Linked DNA regions of Homo sapiens: region 2 is linked to region 1. Evidence: promoter capture Hi-C in 16 types of primary human blood cells and fetal thymus (Javierre and others, 2016). All regions are on one chromosome and are shown on one strand. Each heading gives the region's core, a stretch centred on a gene start or on the middle of the fragment in contact. The rest is flanking DNA. Distances are from core to core; before and after follow the strand shown. Region 1 holds the start of LAMTOR1 (late endosomal/lysosomal adaptor, MAPK and MTOR activator 1). Region 2 overlaps RELT (RELT TNF receptor).

Region 1 (3,264 bases), core at 609-3,108:
GAACACCTGGGCACTAGCACTTCTCAGCTTGGCCAAATCACTTAGCTTCTCTGAACTTCTTCCTCACCTTTCAATAGACATAACCCACACTAATATGACGGATGTCTGGCAAGAGTCAAATTAGATAACTGTGAAGGCCCTTTGTAAACTGTAACGTGTTGTATATTTTTTATTATGATAAAGAGACAGAGATGAGAGTCGGAGAGGGGCCTGCCCAAGAACTCAAAGAGGGACTGTGGGATGGTGGATGGTTATGGCCCTTGCTACATGAGGCCTCAAATCACCCAGCAGTGATTAAGCACCTTCTCTGGGTGTTAGGAACAGAAATGAGAGCCCCCCAAGGAGAAGGTAGAGATTCAGGAGAGCAGCAGGCCCAGCTCTCCCTTCCAAGTAGAAGCTTGTATCCTTTCTCATACGGCATTAATCCTTCTTGACTCATTCCCTGCAAGAGTCCATATTATGCTTTAAGGGACAATTTCCCACTAGGCTACAGCTCTCCCAGTAGGCAGGGTTATTGTTGTCTCTTTCTCAAAAAGGTGGAAGTGAAGTGAGAGGTATTAGGCACAACACATGCCTAACACAGGGCAAAGGAAATATGTGTTCATTGGGTGTATGGAGAATTGAGAACCAGAAGCCACCCTTGCTTCCCATACAAACGACATTTTCCTAGGCTTAAGCCCTTAATCCAAAATACGTTCACTGAAGAACGAACTACTTCCCAAGTACCAGTGATATAATCTATTTTTGTGACCATCTTCCCCATTAGACCGTGAGCTACCTGAAACCTTTCTACTCTCTCAGGTCTACTATATGTTCAAATGTAGAATCCGGGCTTAGAGACGATCAAAAAAGGAGAGTAGACAGCAACTTGAGACTTCATCCTTGAATGTCAGGCCAGGCAGGGCAGGGATTAGAGTGTGGGGAGAAGTGAGAATGCACTAAGAGGAAGAGGGAGAATTTAAAACTGTACAGGTCTCCCCAGCCTAACCCTTTCTCCAAAGGTATCAGATCTACAGCCAAATTCTCAGAATAGGCATGTCTCCAGCTAAAGGAACCCTCAGGCCCCAGGCAGACTGCACTGAGGCAAGCCAAACTCAGAACCAAATGAACTTCCCGCTCCATTTCTCTTTTCCCACAATCTAGCCAAAGCTAAATCCTCTTTGTTGCTTCCCAGACAATTTCCCACATGTCCCGATGTCCTCACTGTATCGATTAAATCCTTCATTGGCCAATTCAAAGGCCACCAACTTCCAGAGTCGTCCCCTGGCCCTAGACTAGCAGCGACCTTCCTTCTGCAACCCCAGGGACTAAGACGATACACGAATTCCTGATTCATCTCAGGACAGACTAACTCAGGGCCTCAGCTTACCCACCCCTAAAATGGATTCGCAAAGCCCACTAATACACAGAAGACACAGGAAGCTGGGGAAGGGAGTGTTTCCCGGGGACCTAGACTGAGGATCCTTGAATCTGAAAAGTTTTGAAGGTAGGAGCAAACGGAAGTGGTGGGAGCGAGCCGGACAGGCGGCTGCCTGCACACCCCGAGGCGGGGACTGTGTAGAAATCTGGGGCTTTAACAGGGGTAGGAGCCCGGCTTGGCGTCTCCTCTGTAATCTGTCCCCTCCAGGCCTCCGTATTCAGTGAGCCCTGCAGTCCGGCTGCCCGTCCTCCGCAGGTTTCTTTCTGGGCCCCATGCCCCAGTGTCTTAGCCCTCATTCCCGAGCCCCGCCTGCCGCGGCCGCACCTGGTCCGAGTCCTCGTTCTCGCTGCTGTAGCAGCACCCCATGGCCGGGGTCGGGCCGGGCGCTCAGGCCGCGCCGAGGAGGGACGGCGTCCGTGAGGAGCCCTTCCGGTCACATGACCCGCGGCGGCCTCCCGCAGGCAACCACCCGCCCCCACCCCCCGTACCCCCTGTCCCGGAGCCGCTTGGCCGCCTCAGTCAATACCCCGGCTTCCGGTCCCGCCCGCTAGCGCGTGATCGTTGTCAACCAATGGGAAGGCGTAACCGTACACGCAAGCACGTGATGCGGGGAAAGGGCGGGGCGGATCACATGACTTCATCTTTCCAGTCTCTAAACTGGCAGTAGTGGCCATCGTGAATTGTGTTATGCGTTCTCGTGGCCACTAGGCCACTTTTCTGGGCCATTGAGCGAACTCGTACCAAATGCCCTCGTATGCCCTTGTGATATACTCTTCTAAATGCCATGCGAGGGGCGACTGGGATCCAGGCCTGATGCTCCAGATCGTACGGTCTGGGTGCACACACACAGATGATCCAGATGACCAGTACCTAGTCGGGGAACACAGAGGGTGTATCGCCCAGCTGGGCTGGGGGTGAATACACAGAGGGTGTATTCTCCACCTGGGCTGGGGATCTGCGACTTACAGGAAGAAGGGACCTTATACTACCTTCACATGCTGACGCGCAGCGGAGATAAATCCTGGTAGAGGAGATAGAAGCCACCTCACTGACCTCTCTGCTTTCAGGCTTTTATCTTTAATTCTGCCTTTTTTAACAGCACCCATTGTAATCGAACGCACAAAGCTGACCATCAGTTCTCTTTTCCTAACCCCCGCTCCATGTCTTCCCTTGGGCCCTGAACACAGGTCCAAGTCCGTCCAAGATTGTATAGTGATCCATTTGTTGTTCATGAGCGTGTGATTGGGTGTTCACCAGCATGTATCAAATGTGCCACCCTCAAATCTTGTTTTGGCACATTACCCGTCTGACATAACAAGAGCCTGACACCTCTCCCACTGCATGTTCTGGGGTGAGGGGTGGAGGGGTCAGCAATGTGTTTCACTGGACATAGAGAAATAATGTAGTTTCCTGATTGATCTACTGGACTTTGTACATGCAGCCTGGTCTGCCTACTGTCTTTACTGTCTTCGAGACTCAGTACAATGTCCTCCTGATTACCTTCTCTGACTCCATTCTCTGGACATGCCCAGCTCCCTATGCTTAATCCTCATCCAGTGTTAATTCATGCATTTATTGAATCAACAAATATTTGCTGAGCGTCTACTATGTGCCACACATTGTTATATCTGGATATGCAGCAGTTCACAAAACAGCCAAAGTCCCTGTAGTCATGGAACATCCAATAGTGATCACACTATATTGTATTCTCTGTTCCTGGGTCAGTCTCACCTACCAAACTTGGGAGTTCCTGGAGCACAGTGACAGGTTCTGACTCTTCCCTGTAGCCCAAGGCATGGCCTTGCTTACAGAAAACTTGCATATCAATGAGCATGTTACAGTCA
Region 2 (3,462 bases), core at 327-2,826, 1.3 Mb after region 1:
ACTTGACCTCTCTGAGCCTCAGTTTTTTCTGTGTGAAGCATGGAACACTGTCTTTGAGGGGTTCAGTGAGACCCAGCTTAGAGTGGGAAGGGGACAGGCAGTAGTGCTCAGTGAGGAGGGTTAGGGAGCCTCCTCTCTGCCCGAGATAACTGTCTGGTCTCAGACATCCCTCCTCTAGCCCCAGACTCGGCCCAGGAAGTGGGGCAAGGATTGCACCTGTACCATACCCAGACTGGGAGGAGCTGGGTGGGCCAGGTGTGGCCACCTCAGCCCTTTTCTTGGCCTCAAGGGGCCAATTTAGCCCCCTTAGCCTCAGCCCCACCCCATCCACCTGAGCCACTGAAACCCAGGCCTGGTGGCAGCCAGGAGGTCTGAGGTGCAGAACCATGCCCAACTTCTGGGGGTGTTGCTGAGAGTGGGCTGGGGAGCAGCTGCTGCCTGGCCTCGAGGTGCTCCCCAGCCCTTGAGGGACTGGTTTATACCCCATCGTGGTGACCTGGGAGCTCATGGCTGCCCAGGGCTGTGGGAGGGGGCAGGAGTGGAGCACCTGTCTCACTGAGTGGCCCTGAGCCAGCCTCTGCACATCTCTGAGCTTCCAGCAGCAGCCCTAGTAAGCTGGGGTTCCACCCTGGGACCTCTTTTTCCCCGCTCTGGGAATTCCCAGACTTCCCCGGTCTTCCTGCCTCTTTCAGTTCACAGCTCCCTTTCCTGCCAGAGCTGGCACAGACTAGAACAATATGCAAATGAGTATAGATGCAGGCAACTCCTAGAGGCCCCATGGGATGGCGGTGCAGACAGCACCTTCTCCTGGGGCCCTCCTGGGTCCTTAGTAACAGACCCTCAGTTGAGCCACCTACTGGGTGCTACTAGCTTGCTAGCCTCCACCATCAGGTTGGCAAACACTGCAAGGACATTTACTATGTGCCAGGTCCTGGGCTAAGTTGCAGGGCAAAAGGAGGCAGAAAAGAGACAGTCCTGGGCTCCATTCCTGCTTCATCTCTTACTGGCTGTGTGACCCCCGCCAGTGACCTCCCCTGACCTCAGTTTGCCCAGCTGTGAAACAGGAATGCTCACTTCTCCTGCAAGGAAAGGCAGCAACCCAGGATGAGGGCCCGGCCTGCACAGGGCTGGGGTCCATTCCTTTCCCTGTGAGTGTGGAAGAGGGAAAGCCACTCAGCGTGGTCGCTGCCCTACTTCAGCCCCACTTGCCAGGGAACCGCTGGGCTCCTTGCTAACCTGGATTTCTCTGTTGATGGGTGGCCTTTGTCTTCCTGCCTTGGGTGTGGCCACCGCCAAGGGAGGCCTGTGTCCAGCTGTGTTTCCAGGCAACCCTAGCCTCTGGAGGCCAGAGGGAGGTCCACAGGCTCAGGAGCCACTATCTGGGAAGCAGAGTAGCTGCCTCCCTACCTGCCCTCCTCCAGGTGGGCACCAGCCCCCACCTCCATCTCCCCCAGTGCGGCCTCTCTTAGCAGGCAGCCTGGGGAGCCTGCTGAGACCGAACTGTTCATTCTTCTCCATCCCTTGCTTAACCCTTCCTGGCTCCCATAGGCCCTAGGGGGAAGTGCAGGCTTTTTGGCAGGCAGCTGAGCCTTGGTGTGACCTGAGCACTGCCCACCAACCTTCCCAGACTCCTCCAGACTCCTCCCGTCTTCTCCGCCCTCCCACCCTCCAGATTCCCACCAGGGCGAACCCAGCACCGCCTGTATACCAGACTCTGTGCCAGGCACTGAACGTAAATAAAAGGTTTGTGCCCTTCTCCTCCACATTCCACACGTAGGGAAACTGAGTCACAGTGAAGTGTGGGGAATGCTTACTCTGTGCCAGGCCTGTGCTGAGTACTTAATGTGATTCTCTTCTTTCAGCCTTACCACAGCCCTCTGCAGGCAGGCCACAGAGCCAGTGCAAGACAGAGCAGAGCAGGACTGCACCCCATACTTTGTATCCCCAGGTTAGCCCAGGGGTTCAGATCTGGGTTCTGACCCACCCCAGCCTCTGGGCTCCTTCCCCCTCAGCCTGCTCACTGGCTCTTCTAGCTCGGCATAGCTGGGCTCTCTACCAAGAGTGCCTTTTCTGCCTTCTCCCCCAAATCAGCCCATACCCGCCCAGGTCGGCACTGGGCATGGAGCAGGCAGCTCGTGGTGGGGAAAGGGCTGGGTAATAGGATCTGCATGGCACCATGAATGCTGAGGGGGAGGTGGGGGAGAGGGTACTTCCAGGAGGAAGTGACTTCGAGCTGAGCTCTAAGGAAGAGTGGGTGCTGGCCAAGCGATGAGGGGAGAGCAGAAAGCAGGTGCAGCGTGTGTGAGGGTGGAAAGCACTCAGCGTGGCAGGCGTGTGGGTGGGGGAGGTTGGTGGGGGCGCGTCACGACGCCATCCTGAGGGTGGTGGGAGCTGGCCCAGGGCCAGGGCCAGAACTGGGTGTCAGGGCACCTAGGCTGCAGGGCGGGACTGACCTGGAGGCCAGAGACAGGGCAAGGGGGCAAGAGCAATGGGCGCAGGCCTTGGGAGAGCTTAGGGACTGTAGGGAAGGGGAGGGCCCTGCCTAGGGGAGGGGGAGTGGCGTGGCAGGGCCCGGGTGACCCCAGCGAGCTTCAGTTCTGGGAAAGGGGAAGCTGCCTGTGGCCTGGGCTGGTGGCACAGCTTCCTCTTTCTCTGAGGCCTCCAGGCTGCACCTCCCTGGGGCTCCACCATCTGTGGCCTCAATCGTGGTCTGGGGCCCTCAGCTTGGGGGTCTGGCCGTGGCCTTTGCTAGTTGGCTTTTCTCCAGGGAATTTCTGGTTCTCATTGTTCGGGCATTTTTTTGGAGAGCTGAGTCTGAGGAAACCCTCCCCGCCTCGTGAGCCTGCTTGGAGGCCTCCCGCTTCAGACATGGGGCTGGGTGTGGAGTTTTGTGGCAAATAAAACAGACGTCCCTGCCCTCACCACTGTCTGGTGGGGGAGCAAGGAATAAACAAGTAAGCAAACAAATACTTAATCACAGCCCTCTGCCAGCAGGGCAGAGGAGAAGGGCTGTGGAGAAGGAAATCCCATGACCTACTTTAGCTTCATTACCTCCTTTAAACCCCATGACTGGCTGGGCACAGCGGCTCACACCTGGAATCCCAGTACTTTGGGAGGCCAAGGCGAGAGGATCGCTTGAGCCCAAGAGTTGGAGACCAGCCAGGGCAACATAATGAGACCCCGTCTCTACAGAAAATAAATTTAAAAATTTAGCCAGGCATGGTGGGGCATGCCTGCAGTCCTAGTTACTCAGGAGGCTGAAGCAGGAGGATCACTTAAAAGTTCAAAGTTGCAGTGAGCTGTGATCGTGCTACTGCAGTCCATCCTGGATGGCAGAGTGAGACACTGTCTCAGAAAAAACAAAACAGAAATTCCCCAAAAACTTCGCGACAGCCATGCCAGCAAGATGAACGTCCCCATCTCTGTAGATGAGAAAACTGAGACCCAGTGATGTGAAGGTCC

Evidence for each region. Contacts are between HindIII fragments. The CHiCAGO score rates a contact against its expected background, and 5 or more counts as called.
Region 2: a fragment that was not itself captured here is called in contact with the fragment with the promoter of LAMTOR1 in region 1 in 1 of 17 cell types (neutrophils); the score reaches 5.4 in neutrophils.

Annotation. Positions count from the first base shown.
Region 1 is chr11:72,101,439-72,104,702 of GRCh38, forward strand. It overlaps LAMTOR1 (late endosomal/lysosomal adaptor, MAPK and MTOR activator 1), which reads right to left and starts at 1,859. Exons shown (of 5, transcript NM_017907.3): 1 at 1,745-1,859. The coding sequence starts at 1,786. The region is part of intron 5 of LRTOMT (leucine rich transmembrane and O-methyltransferase domain containing); the gene reads left to right. It also overlaps the pseudogene LOC124902837. RefSeq lists enhancers at 1,565-1,644, 2,425-2,945 and a silencer at 1,745-2,014. The HindIII fragment of the contact is 8,877 bases long and covers 396-3,264 here.
Region 2 is chr11:73,382,674-73,386,135 of GRCh38, forward strand. The region is part of intron 1 of RELT (RELT TNF receptor); the gene reads left to right. Among named protein-coding and RNA genes, the nearest start is that of RELT, 8.0 kb to the left of the region's middle. RefSeq lists a silencer at 2,438-2,677. The HindIII fragment of the contact is 8,583 bases long and covers 1-3,462 here.